Regions from separate parts of the Homo sapiens genome. Here region 1 is linked to region 2. Evidence: promoter capture Hi-C in human tissues and cell types (Jung and others, 2019). All regions are on one chromosome and are shown on one strand. Each heading gives the region's core, a stretch centred on a gene start or on the middle of the fragment in contact. The rest is flanking DNA. Distances are from core to core; before and after follow the strand shown. Region 1 holds the start of UBE2I (ubiquitin conjugating enzyme E2 I). Region 2 holds the start of CLCN7 (chloride voltage-gated channel 7).

Region 1 (6,773 bases), core at 1,936-4,435, 170 kb after region 2:
AGAGCCACCTCTACAAAGCTGGGGGACTGAGCCAGGTCTTCTAAGCTGTGGGGGGCCGTCCCTACTACGGCTTGGGCTGTCCTAGAATAGCCACAAGGGCCCTGGGGACCTGGATGGCTCCCACACCTGTGGAGGCCCACGAACCTCACACACCTCGCAGCCGCAGAAAGGGGCCAGGTCAGCAGCTCCACCTGCGTCGGAGCCGCCGCAGCCTCACCTGGCACTCGTTAGGGAGACAAGGCCCAGTCCCCGGCAGACCCACGGACGAAGGAGCTCTGAGAGGCCCGCACTCAGGTTCTGGGTGGCACGATGACTTCCCCAGTCAGCAGAGCAGAAATCGGGGGTGGGGTTGGGATCAAAGAAGCCAAGGCAGGTCCAGTGTCGCCAGGGCACCAGGCTTCTGAAGCTGCTAGAGCCGCCTGCCCTGCAGGTGAATTTGGCTCCTTTTCACCAAACACAGATCCTCAGGGCAGCCTGAGAAAAAGCAGGCGAAGGAACCTGGGTCCTCCAGTCAGCAGGCGCTGGCGTCACAGCGAGAGGGTGACAGGGGCCAGCCGGGCACTGGCCTCCAGGTCCACGACTAAGTCCAAGACAGGCAGCCCGGGCTGGAGGCAGCCCCAGACCGGGCCCCACCGGGATGTCCTTCCCCACGCCCTCCTCACATGATGCAGAGGAGCCCGCAGGCCGCCCGCCCTCTGGACCGTTTGCCCTTCCCCGTGCCCTCCTCTAAGTGAGGGGGGGGGAGCCAGGGGCCAGACAGGGAGAAAGTGGGGGGCACAGCTATGGTCAGGCAGGGTTCGAGCCCAGAGCGGAGTGGAGCGCCCGCCAACCACGGTTTCAAGGCTGTCTCCGCACTGGGCTGGACTCCGAAACTCCACACGTTCCTCCACCCTCCACTCCCACGTGGAGCAGCCCAGCTGCGACTTGAGGACTCACAGCTCTCGCTTCCCCAGCCCCAGGATGGGCTTCCTGAGTGGCCGCAGCCTGTGCCCGGTGCGGTGCAAAGCAGCCTGGCGAGTGGCCATTTCAAGGAGGCACGACCTCCCAGGTGCCCGGGGTCTGAGCGAGGCCAGGCATCAGGCAAGTCTCTGAAGCCTCAGGCCAGTGCTCCAGACACTGAAGGACCATGGGCAAGGCTATCCTCACAGCCAGGCAAGGCCAGGCCACAGAGAGGCCAGACGGGCCTGGGACCCTGCCACAGGCAGCCCTCCTGCTGAGGACTGGACAGAGCCGCCTAGAGGCCCCCGTCCCAGCACCTAGCTATTGCTGTCTCAGGTGTGAGAAGTCGTGAGGGGTGGTCCTGCGAGACCTCCTGCCAAGACCTGGCTGCTGCTGCTGTGTCCCCTGCCCCAAAGCACTCAGCACCACGGGGTGGTCTCACAGGCACTGCACCGCCAGGGCAAGGAGCCACAGGTGCACACCCACCGTGTCCCAGACAGAAGCCAGGCCCCTCCCCCTGCACCCCCTCCTACTGGCCTTCTGGAGAAAGCGGCCAATCTGTTACAATGTAATCACAACACAGATCAAGCGTTCAAAATTCCGCTGAAAATCGAATTTGCCCTTCCAAATTCACAGATAGGCACTTAGTGAACGGCTAGTAGTTACTAAACGCTTCAGAGCAAGAAACTTTTATGATGCAAAGACAAAAACAACCCTCATCTATTAGAGCCAGGCAAGGCCCAGACACTGCAGAAACGGGGACAGGGCCGGGCACTCCAGGAGCGGCCCGAAAGTCTGCCTTCTGTCCTCCTGCTGGGCGCCCGCAACCGGCTGAGCTTTAGCTTCTCGGATCACCGCCTTGCTCTGCTGGTTGACAGCACCGACTTCAGAGCAACTTCCTGGCTGAGGGTGAGCAAAGCACTCACCTCCCACAACTCCACCGCACTGATCTCCACAACGGGTGGTCGCCACGACAGGCTGGCACAAGAAGCCTTTAAAGGCCCTCCTGCACCCAAATGCAAACTCTCCCAGGCTTGGGGAGGTATTCCCTTCTGCAAGACCCAAGCACCTGCAGTCGGGAGACGCTTACCTGGCCGCACCTGATCTGCCCCAGGCCCCGAGAATGTTTCTGAAGCAAGATCCCAAACCCTGAGACACCATACAAGCGCACACCAGCAATCACCCAGTGGCCTAGGGAACGGACCTCTCTGAATGAGCAATCAGGGCAAACTGAGGATCCGTCCCGTCTTCCGTTGCATAGGTTCTCTACCCAAAGGCAACGTTTCTTGAAGAGCAAGAAACACTTGGGGTAGGTCCTGTAAAAGGAAACAAACCGAACTCCCCAAAGACAGGCACTTTGCAAACAGAGAAACTAAGCGTAACTTCCAATTATACAAACAAAACCACTTCATTCTGCGATTCAAGCGTGACTACAGGCCACGATCACAAGCCCAACTAATCATTCCCTTACATTCCTCCTACGCACGTTAACTACCAGAACCAACTACTATTCAACCGATAAAAAGAGATGTCCAAAACAGAATAAAACTCCCCCTCCAGCGAGGCGCTCACGTTCAGGGCCCCAGCAAGCGCCAGCGGAGCATCTTCAGAGGCACAAGAAAACTTACACTTGTTTTGGTTTTAAGGCACCGAAAACAAGCCCGCTCGCCGGCCCCCACCCCCGCGAGCCAGCGATGTTGCAATCCAAGACTCTCCCCCCGCGGCCCATCCTATCCGTCCGCGGGGCGACCGTGACCCCGGAAGCCGCTCCCCGCGCAGGAGGAAGGCGCGGCCTCGCGGGGCCCCGGCTGCAGGTGGCTGCCCCGGCCCCGCGCCAGGCGCACCTCGGGGGCGAAGTGGGGGAGCCCCGGCCCCGAAGGCCTGCGGCGGCCCGGCCGCTCGGGCCGCAGCCCAGCGGCGCCAGCAGCGCGGACCGAGCCGGCGCCGAGCGCGGGGCCTCTCGGGCTCCCCGGAAAGCTCGGCCGCGGCGCGGGGCCCGGCTCGGCGGGGCGGGGCGCGGGGCAGTCGGGGGCCCGGGCCCAACAGGAGTAGAGGCCTCGGCCCGACCCCCGCCCCGCGGCCCCGGCCCGGCCCCCGCACGCGCTCACCTCGGGCGGCCGCAGCCCCGGCGAGCGTAGCGGACAGGTGGAGGACCGAGCGGGGCGGCGGCGGCGGCGCTTCCCTTTGTCTCGGGACTTCCCTCCGGAGCCCGCTCCGCGCGCAGCCAGAGCAGCTCCGAGGACCCTGGCGCGGGCGGGGCGCGCGGGGCGGGGCCTAACGCGGGGCTGCCCTCTGCACGCCTGCCTCGCGCGCCGCTCCTGCCGCCCGGCCCCGAGCGCCTCCCGCGCCGCCGAGCGCTCCCCGTTGCCCGCGCCCCGCCGCCGCGCGCCCGCGCCCCGGGTCCGCCCCAGGAGCCCGGCCGGGGGGCGACTTTCCAGTCAGGCGGCGCCCTGGACACCTACGCCCTTAAAGGAGCCGCGTCCCCGATGTGAGGGAGCGTCTGTAAACTCCCCTTCGGGCTGCCCGCGTCCACCCGAGGACACGCCGGCAAGCAGCGGGGGAAAAAGGAAGCCGAGATCTCCAAAGGCTCCCCGGATGCCTGGCGGTCACCTCTCCAGCCACAGGTCCCGGAGGTTTCCTTGGGGTCAGGTCCTGGGGCCGGGGGTCAAAGACCACTGAGGCCTAAGGATCCTCTGAAGCGTCGCAGGACGGTGACGCTCCCGCGAGTTCAGCGCCCTGTGAAACCCCTTGCAATTGGCCAGTTCGGGGCGGTAGGCGGGGACACCTTCTCATCCGCCCAATGAGCTGACCCCGTACAAAAGGCCGAATGCGAGCATGACCGACGGGAGGAGAAGTGTGGATGCTCCCTAAACCGGGGGCTGGCCCTGGGCCGGGGCGCGGGCGGGACGTGGGGGACCGCGAGCGGCGGGGGCGGGGCGAGCCCGTGGGGGAGGGGCGCTTCCGGTCCCCCCTCCCGCCCACGCAACAAGCAGGACCGGGTCGGGAGGCCCCCAGACCCGCGAGCGCGCGGGACAGTCCGTTCGCCAACGCGCGACCGTGCTGGCCCCCGGGCTCTCCCGGCCCCCCCGCCCGCATTTCGCCGACGGCGGGGCCGCAGCCAAGGTCACGGTGTCCGGGTGCTTGGGGACCGCGGGGAGTGACCACATTCATTCATTCCCTCCCTCACTCATTCATTCATTCCCTCCCCTACTCCGTCATTCCCTCCCTCACTCACTAATTCCCTCCCTCCCTCACTAATTCCCTCCCTCCCTCATTCATTCGATCCCTCCATCACTCAATCATTCCTTCCCTCTCTCACGCATTCCCTCCCTCACTTACTCATTCATTGCCACCCTCACTCACTCATTCCCTCCCTCACTTACTCATTCATTCCCACTCACTCATTCCCTCCCTCACTCACTCATTCCCTCCCTCACTCATTCCCTCCCTCACTCACTCATTCCCTCCCTCACTCATTCCCTCCCTCACTCATTCATTCCCTCCCTCACTCACTCATTCTCACTCTCACTCATTCCCGCCCTCATTCATTCATTCCCGCCCTCATTCATTCATTCCCACCCTCATTCATTCCTTCCCTCCCTCACTCATTCCCTCTCTCATTCATTCCCTCCCTCCCTCACTCACTCATTCCCTCCCTCACTGATTCCCTCCCTCACTGATTCATTCATTCCCTCCATCACTCATTCATTCCTTCCCTCACTCATTCCCTCCCTCACTCATTTCCTCTCTCATTCATTCATTCCCTCCCTCCCTCACTCATTCCCACTCTCACAAACTCATTCCCTCCCTCACTTACTCATTCCTCCCTCATTCATTCCCTCCCTCATTCGTTCATTCCCTCCCTCATTCATTCATTCCCTCCCTCCCTCATTCCCTCCCTCCCTCATTCATTCATTCCCTCCCTCATTCATTCATTCCCTCCCTCATTCATTCCCACCCTCCCTCATTCATTCCCTGCCTCCCTCACTCATTCCCTCCCTCACTCATTCATTCCCTCCCTCCCTCACTGATTCTCTCCCTTATTCATTCCATCCCTCACTCATTCCCTTCCTCCCTCATTCACTTCCTCCCTCACTCATTCATTCACTCCCTCCCTCATTCATTCATTCCCTCCCTCCCTCACTCATTCCCTCCCTTACTCATTTATTCCATCCCTCACTCATTGCCTCCCTCCCTCATTCCCTCCCTCTCTCCCTCATTCATTCATTCCCTCCCTCATTCATTCCCTCCCTCACTCATTCCCTCCCTCACTCATTCATTCCCTCCCTCACTCATTCCCTTCCTCCCTCATTCATTCATTCCCTCCCTCACTCATGCATTAATTCCCTCCCTCACTCACTCATTCCCTCCTTCACTCATTCACTCCCTCCCTCCCTCACTCATTCCCCCACCACCTCCCACAGGGTCCCCAGCGGGCATTTCCCTGTCAGGCACCTGCAGCAGGAGGGGCAGCCACACACCCTGGGTCTGCCTGCCTGGGAGGCGCAGCCGTGGGGATGTGGGTCCAGGGCAGCAGGGGCAGCCTCCCCCAGAATCCAGTCCCTGGAAGCCATGCACAGCCCTGTCCCACCAAGACCAGCGGGGGCCTGGCCTGGCTGCAACTCCCAGGCTCAGAGCCTCCGTGGCCTGTCTAGACACCTGCTGTCCTGGCCCCCAGCCTTGAGGTCCTGGGAATCTGCTTTTTTTTTTTCCTTTTTTTTGTGAGATGGAGTCTCACTGTGTTGCCCAGGCTAGAGTGCAGTGGCGCCATCTTGGCTTACTGCAACCTCCACCTCCTGAGTTCAAGCGATCCTCCTGCCTCAGCCTCCCGAGTAGCTGGGATTACAGGCGTGCACCACCACACCCGGCTAATTTTTGTATTTTTAATAGAGACGGGGTTTCACCATGTTGGCTAGGCTGGTCTCAAACTCCTGACTTCAAGTGATCCGCCCACCTCGGCCTCCCAAAGTGCTGGGATTACAGGTGTGGACCACCACGCCCAGCTGAAATCTGCATTCTTAACCAGCCCCCTGGGCAAGCCTGGCAGAGGGATATGGCCCTTTGGCTTCCTGACATGGGCTAAGGTTCCAACGCCATCTTTCTGGCGAAGATGCCAGCACAGGGCTGTGTGGGGAGGCGTCAGCCAGTAAAAGCCGTGGCTGAAGAAAAGCAAGACAGCCACGGGCCTCGGTGGATCCCGCTGCAGCCTCAGGCACAGAGAGGGCAGGGCTGGTGAGGTGGGGGGCTTGTCATGAGTGGGGCTTGGGGAGACTGACTGGATGTGGTGTGTGGCTGGGGAGGGCCTGGGCCTGAACCTGTGGGCCATGGGAGCCATAGAAGGTTGTGGAACAGGAGAAGTAAGACAAGGCCCTGGTTCCCTGTGTGTGTGTGGTGAGGGACTGAGGAGACATGGCTCAGGCATCTAGAGAATTCCTGTCCTGGTGGGAAGTAGTGCCAGGAGGGGCTGGGGTTTGGGGAGGCTGTGGCAGGTGAGGGTGAGGGACATGGAGCAGGTAGGGGTGAGGGTCATGGAGCAGGTGGGGGTGAGGGGCATGGAGCAGGTGGGGGAGGGAAGAGGCTCCCTCAGTTGTGCATCCTCAGCCCACAAGTGTCCTTTGAGCAGCCTGCACCTGGCACACGTTTTCAAGGAGAGGGGACTTGTTGGGTCCAGCTCCCTGGGTACAAAGGAGAAACTGAGGCTTGGAGAGGGTGGGGGGTTTGAATCAGTAACTATAAGATCCTGGGCAAGGCTTGTGGCTGACTGTGCCAGGCACGCGCCCACCTTTGCCCTGGTCCCCTTGGGAGGGGAGCAGGAAGTGTGATGCAGAGCTGCC
Region 2 (6,440 bases), core at 808-3,307:
CCTGGCGCCATGACTCATGCCTGTAATCCCAGCACTTTGGGAGGCCAAGGCAGGCGGATCACAAGGTCAGGAGATTGAGACCATCCTGGCTAACACGGTGAAACCCCGGGTCTACTAAAAATACAAAAAATTAGCCGGGCGTGGTGGCGGGCGCCTGTAGTCCCAGCTACTTGGGAGGCTGAGGCAGGAGAATGGCGTGAACCCGGGAGGCGGAGCTTGCAGTGAGCCAAGATCACGCCATTGCACTCCAGCCTGGGCAACAGAGCGACACTCTGTCTCAAAAAAAACCAAAAGGAAACAAAAAAAAGAAAAATTAGCCAGGTGTGGTGGCGGGTGCCTGTAATCTCAGCTACTCGGGAGGCTGAGGCAGAAGAATCATTTGAACCCAGGAGGCGGAGGTTGCAGTGATCCAAGATAGCGCCATTGCACTACAGCTTGGGTGACAAGAGTGAAACTCCGTCTCAAAAAAAAAAAAAAAAAAGAAGGAAAAAGAAAAAAGAAATGCCAACCATGGCCGGGCATGGTGGCTCATACGAAGAGTCCTAGCAACTCAGGAGGCTGAGGAAGGAGGATCCCTTGAACCCAAGAGGTCAAGGCTGCAGTGAGCTATGATCTTGTCATTGTACTTCAGCCTGGGTGACAAAGTGAGACTGTGTCTCAAAAATAAAAAAATAATAATAATAATTTAAAAAAAGGCCGGGCACCGTGACTCACGCCTGTAATCTCAGCACTTTGGGAGGCCGAGGCGGGTGGATCACGAGGTCAGGAGATCGAGACCATCCTGGCTAACACAGTGAAACCCCATCTGTACTAAAAATACAAAAAATTAGCCGGCCATGGTGACGGGCGCCTGTAGTCCCGGCTACTCGGGAGGCTGAGGCATGAACCCGGGAGGCAGTGAGCCGAGATTGGGCCACTGCACTCCAACCTGGGCGACAGAGTGAGACTCCGTCTCAATAATAAAAATATCGACCTTTTAAAAGGAAGAGGATGAGGCACAAAATATAAAGAGTTTACTCTAGAGGCTAACGTGGAAGGATCACTTGAGGTCAGAAGTTTGAGAACAGCCTGGGCAACACACTGTGAGCTCCACAGCAAAAATTAGCCGGGTGTGGTGGTGCAGGCCTGTGGTCCCTGTTACTCCAGAGGCTGAGGCGGGAGGATGGCTTGAGTCCAGGAGGTCAAGGCTGCACTGAGCTGTGACCGCACCACCGCACTCCAGCCTGGGCGACAGAAGGAGACCCTGTCTCAAAATAAATAAATAAATGACCCAGAAGGTGGGGACAGGGTGGGGGCTGATGTAAAGCTGTCAAGAATTCTCTTTGGTTTATGGAAATACCATTGATTAGTGATGGGCTGTGCCCTGGTGCGGGTACAGGGTCCGGGCGGCTATTTGGCTAATTCACAGCTATCTGCGTAGTAGCCGGCAGTTTCCAGAGGCGACCCTCCTGTACTGTCTCTGGGGCCTGATCGTTGAAGAGGACTCGCCTTCTGTTCTTTTCTCATTAGGCGGGAGGACCCTCTGGGGCTGCCTGGAGGAAGCCTCCACTCCGACCCTCGCCCGAGTGCCTACTGCGAGGGCGGATGCATGCTTCGGGACTTCTAATTTCATCCTTCACGTCTTTAGCCGCCGCCTATGGCAAGGAAAGGCCTGCCCTCGCCCCTGCCTCCCTCCTCCCTTCCCCACCGCGGCTCCGTCACGATCGGCGCGGGCGACCGGGCCTGGGGGAGCCCCTCCAGCCGGCTCCTGCCCTCAGGCCCCGGGCGCTTCCCTCGCCCCGACTCCCGGGCCCGAGGTCCCGGGGGCGGCCATTCGCCTCCCAAGCACTCGGCGCTCAGCCCAACGGGGCCGCCTTTGCAGTCGCGTGGGCAGAACGGGGTCCTCAGGGCCGCGGCGATTCTCTAGGGCGGGCGGCGCCACGACCCGCCGGGAGCGCGGCTCCCAGGAGCCCCCGCGCGACCGGGCCTCGGTGGTTGCCGTTGCAGGTCACATGGTCGCCGTCGCTCATCACGTGGCCCCGTCGCGCGTCACGTGGCCGCCGGCGCGGGTCACGAGAACAAACACGGGGGCAGCCGGCGCTTCCCGGCCGGTGTCGCTCCGCGGCGGGCCATGGCCAACGTCTCTAAGAAGGTGTCCTGGTCCGGCCGGGACCGGGACGACGAGGAGGCGGCGCCGCTGCTGCGGAGGACGGCGCGGCCCGGCGGGGGGACGCCGCTGCTGAACGGGGCTGGGCCTGGGGCTGCGCGCCAGGTGAGGCCGGGCAGGGCGCAGGCGGGGAAACTGAGCCCTCGTGCGCCCCGCAGCCCGCGCCCTCGTGAGCCTTCTGGCGGCGCCGCGTGTCTCGGTCCTGGAGGCGACCGAGGCGCGGTGGACTCGGGAACGCGCCCCGGGGCTCCTCGGCGGGGCCGGGCTGGCGGGGGCGCCTGGGGTCTGGAGTCTTCGGAGGCCGCGCCGGGCTCGGTGGCCGGGAGGGCTGCGTGGGCGAGGCGGAGCTCGCCAGACCCCGCGGAATGTGGGGCGCTGAGGGGCGCCGGGGCAGCCGTGGCGCACGTTCATTCCCTCCGGTGTCCCCCAGACTGGCCCTAAAGGGGTGCAAGTGGCTTTCTGTTCAGGTGACTTTTAAAAATTGTCATCCTACACGAGCAACTAATTTTGTTTGCGTTTTTGACCCCCTGGGAGATGGAAACAGTTAAGATTGCAGCCGGGTCACTGTCTTTCAGTGAGAATGACTGAGCGCCTTTATCTGCCATCTTTCTGTGTGGGGATCAGTCCCGACTTTCAGGTGATCTTGGGAGTGACGAGTATTTGTACTCAGTCTCCCTTCGCACCGAGTTGAATTTGCAATGTGCAGGCAAACACAATAAGCAGCAAGTCAGAGGTTGGAATGCGTTCCGCATGTCACCCTGCAGCGTGCGTCTGAGCAGTGTTAAGGTCTGGAGAACCGTTGCGGGTACATTTGTTTCCCTGTCTGTGTATTGTCTTAATATTTTTTTTTTTTTGAGACGGAGTTTCACTGTAGTTGCCCAGGCTGGAGTGCAATGGCGCGATCTCGGCTCACTGCAACCCCCACCTCCCGAGTTTAAGTGACTCTCCTGCCTCAGCCTCCTGAGTAGCTGGAATTACAGGCGTGCGCCACCGCGCCCGGCTAATTTTGTATTTTTAGTAGAGACGGGGTTCCTCCGTGTTGGTCAGGCTGGCCTCGAACTCCCGACCTCACGTGATCCCCCGCACCTCAGCCTCCCAAAGTGCTGGGATTACAGGCGTGAGCCACTGCGCCTGGCCGTATTGTGTTACTTTTGAGTTAATGGACCGTTTTGTTGATGGGTCTTAATCTGCTTTGCAGTTATTCTTTACATTTTCTCTTGTCTAGTCCTTTAAACACTTGTCTTGTGCTTAAAGATTAGGAAGGACGGCAGGGCACGGTGGCTCACATCTGTAATCCCAGCACTTTGGGAGGCCGAGGCGGGTGGATCATGAGGTCAGGAGATTGAGACCATCCTGGCTAATATGGTGAAACCCCGTCTCTACTAAAAATACAAAAAATTAGCCAGGCGTGGTGGCGGGCGCCTGTAGTCCCAGCTACTCGGGAGGCTGAGGCAGGAGAATCAATTGAACCCGGGAGGCGGAGCTTACAGTGAGCGGAGATGGCGCTACTGCACTCCAGCCTGGGCAGAGCGAGACTCCGTCTCAAAAAAAAAAAAAAAAAAAAAAAAGTTTAGGAAGGACACGAAAATCAGCCTGTTTCCATAGAACCTACATTTAGGTTTTCCCAATTCCTTAGAAACGCACCAGACAAAGAAGGTCATAGTCTGCCTTTTGCTGATAAGAAGCAGCAGCTCAGCTCCCTTTGAAGTGGGCCCTCCTGCTCTCCGTGCTGTAGTCTGCATGAAAAGTGATCTGAAGGGGTTAATTTGAAGTGATGGGGCCATGGGTGATTAGTTATTTGTGTGTATGCCTGTGTGTGTATGTGTATGCCTCTGTGTGTGTGTGTGTGTGTTTCTGTTTTAAAAGAAAGGCCAGGTGTGGTGGCTCATGCCTGTAATCCTAGCACTTTGGGAGGCCAAGGTAGGGGAGGATCACTTGAGCCCAGAAGTTCAAGACCAGCCTGGGCAAAATAGTGAAACCCTGTCTCAAAAAAAAAAAAACAAAATTAGCCAGGTGTGGTGATATGCATCTGTAGTCCCAGCTACTGGCTCGGGAGGCTGAGGCAGAGGAGTCGCATGAGCCCAGGAGGTTGAAGCTGCAGTGAGGTGCTTTTTTTTTTTTTTTTCCGAGGTAGTTTGTCACTCTTTTGCCCAGGCTGGAGTTTGAGAACCTATCTCAAAAAATTTAAAAAAAATTTTTTTAATTAAAGAAATCTGAAGTTCACAAGGTAGAAGGAATAAACCCAACTTTAAGGGCTGAAAGGTAAAGATTAGGAACCTTGATGGAGGTTGAATTTGAGTTTCTCTTGGGACTGAATGTGCTTGGGGTTTCCTGTCTGTCTTTGCAAATAGAAGAGTTGATTTTTTGGGAAATAATCTGTTGATCTCTTAACCTTAGAAAGTATTCCCGGCTGTGCACGGTGGCTCATGCCTGTAATCCCAGCACTTTGGGAGGCCGAGGCAGGTGGATCACCTGAGGTCAGGAGTTCGAGACCAGCCTGGCCAACATGGTGAAACCCCATGTCTACTAAAAATAGAAAAATTAGCCGAGTATAGTGGTGAGCGCCTGTAATCCTAGCTAGTCAGGAGGCTGAGGCAGGAGAATCGCTTGAACCCAGGAGGCAGAGGTTGCACTGAGCCGAGATCACGCCATTGCCTGGGCAACAAGAACAAAACTCCATCTCAAAAATAAAAATAAAAAAACTATTCCCTTAAAAGTCATTGTAAGCTTATTTGTTTGTTTGCATTTAATAACAGCGGATACTCTGCTTACAAGCAATTTAAAAAATAGTTTATCGTGCACTTGCTCTGTGGCTGCCTGGGACGCAGGCGCATAAAGCTGCTTCCTTCCTGCTGGAGACAGGCCCAGTGCCCTGTGCGGATGGTCTGCAGGGCCCCTGGGGCAGGAGCAGTCACAAGGCTTGGGCTTGAAGAGCACAAGATCTTCAGGCAGGCGGACGGGGGGAAAGGACAGAGGGAGTGTGTGTTTGGGATGCGCTGTGGAGCCTGGAGGTCAGCCCTGCTGCGCACATGAACAGGCTTTGAATTTGGCTCATCTCTAGGGGAGCCCATGGGAAGCTAGGACCCCATTCCTGAAGGGCCCCAGCCTTCCCCTGCAGACAGACTGGAGAGGCGGAGTCTAGAGGCCAAGACACCACCTCTTAGGCCAGGCGTTTGTGCTCTGAGCATCGGACTCGCCGATGGCCTCCTGCAAGGCCTGTAGCCTCCCTGTTGCCCAGTTTTCCCGTCTGCGAAAAAGTTAACGCATGCATAGCGCTGAGCACGGTGCCTGTCACAAACTACGCTCTGAAGAAACGTGAGTCGTGCCCGGTCGTGTTAAAACCAGCAACACAAGAGGGATTCGTGTTCGTTGTGACTTTCCTGTCCAACTTCCTGAGTAGCTACTGGATTTCTTGGTGCTGCTTTTCTGGGGGAGGGTCTGCTCTGACTGGTGGGCACAGCTCACAGTTAGGCTCAGGCGCACCCCAGTGTGGCCACAGACGGGGTACTGTAAGCTGCCCTTGGGTTCAAGGCCTCCAGAGCTGTTTTGAGCTAAAATATCAACCCAGGCCATCCCCTGCTGACGGGACTGTTCCAGTGAACATGAGAACTGGTCCTAGCTGCCTCCAGGCTCTTTAGGGTTTGTTGCAGGATTTTCAGGTTGGCTGGTGGTGTCGTTGCCACCTCAGCGTGGGCACAGCTGGCCAAACACTATGAGGTGGCTGCCCTGGGCAGGGCAGACTGTGGAGTGGCTTGTTGGAGGCTGGGTGCCCGCTGAAAGCCCAGGCCCTTCAGAGCTGCCTGTGGGTTGCTGTTCCTGTTCTCAGGCCGGTCTTGCTTTGTGTGGTGTAGTGGTGAATTGACCAAGCCAGTCACTGCTCATCTGGTGGTGTTGGGACAGGGCGAGGGTGAGGTCAGCCAGCCCTGGCCGTGTGTGGGCGGCAGGAAGCAGAACTCCTTGAGAACTGAGAGGGAAAGCGGCTGGAGCCAGAAACACTTGGGTCTCAGGGGGCAGTGAGGGGAGGTGGGTATTTGCAGGACATCCCTGGGAACTCATGTTGGGACACTCCACATAAGACCTTGGCAGGGCAGGGGTCTGGGTTAGTGTGGGACTGTGTCCTGCCTGGGCACCCGGAGCCACAGACCGCAGCCTGAGAAAGAACTGTGGGCGCAGCAAGGCTGCGGGGGAGGGTCTGGGGTCGTCGCCAGTGGCCCCTTGAGCTCTGCTGTACTTGAGGAAGTGCCCCTTGGTTCTTTTCTGGCCTCCAGGAAGTCCTCTGCCAGCCTGGGAGGGT

The links. Contacts are between HindIII fragments. The study calls those that stand out against the background at their distance.
Region 1: a contact is called between the fragment with the promoter of UBE2I here and the fragment with the promoter of CLCN7 in region 2, in 1 of the 25 tissues and cell types used here (IMR-90 fibroblasts).

What each region holds. Positions count from the first base shown.
Region 1 is chr16:1,306,048-1,312,820 of GRCh38, reverse strand. UBE2I (ubiquitin conjugating enzyme E2 I) reads right to left here and starts at 3,185. Exons shown (of 7, transcript NM_003345.5): 1 at 3,048-3,185. RefSeq lists enhancers at 582-631, 2,064-2,675, 3,377-3,616 and silencers at 2,647-2,836, 3,037-3,336, 3,827-4,116. The HindIII fragment of the contact is 23,762 bases long and covers 1-6,773 here.
Region 2 is chr16:1,470,645-1,477,084 of GRCh38, reverse strand. It overlaps CLCN7 (chloride voltage-gated channel 7), which reads left to right and starts at 2,057. Exons shown (of 25, transcript NM_001287.6): 1 at 2,057-2,251. The coding sequence starts at 2,111. RefSeq lists silencers at 1,635-1,984, 2,105-2,314 and an enhancer at 1,554-2,097. The HindIII fragment of the contact is 17,994 bases long and covers 1-6,440 here.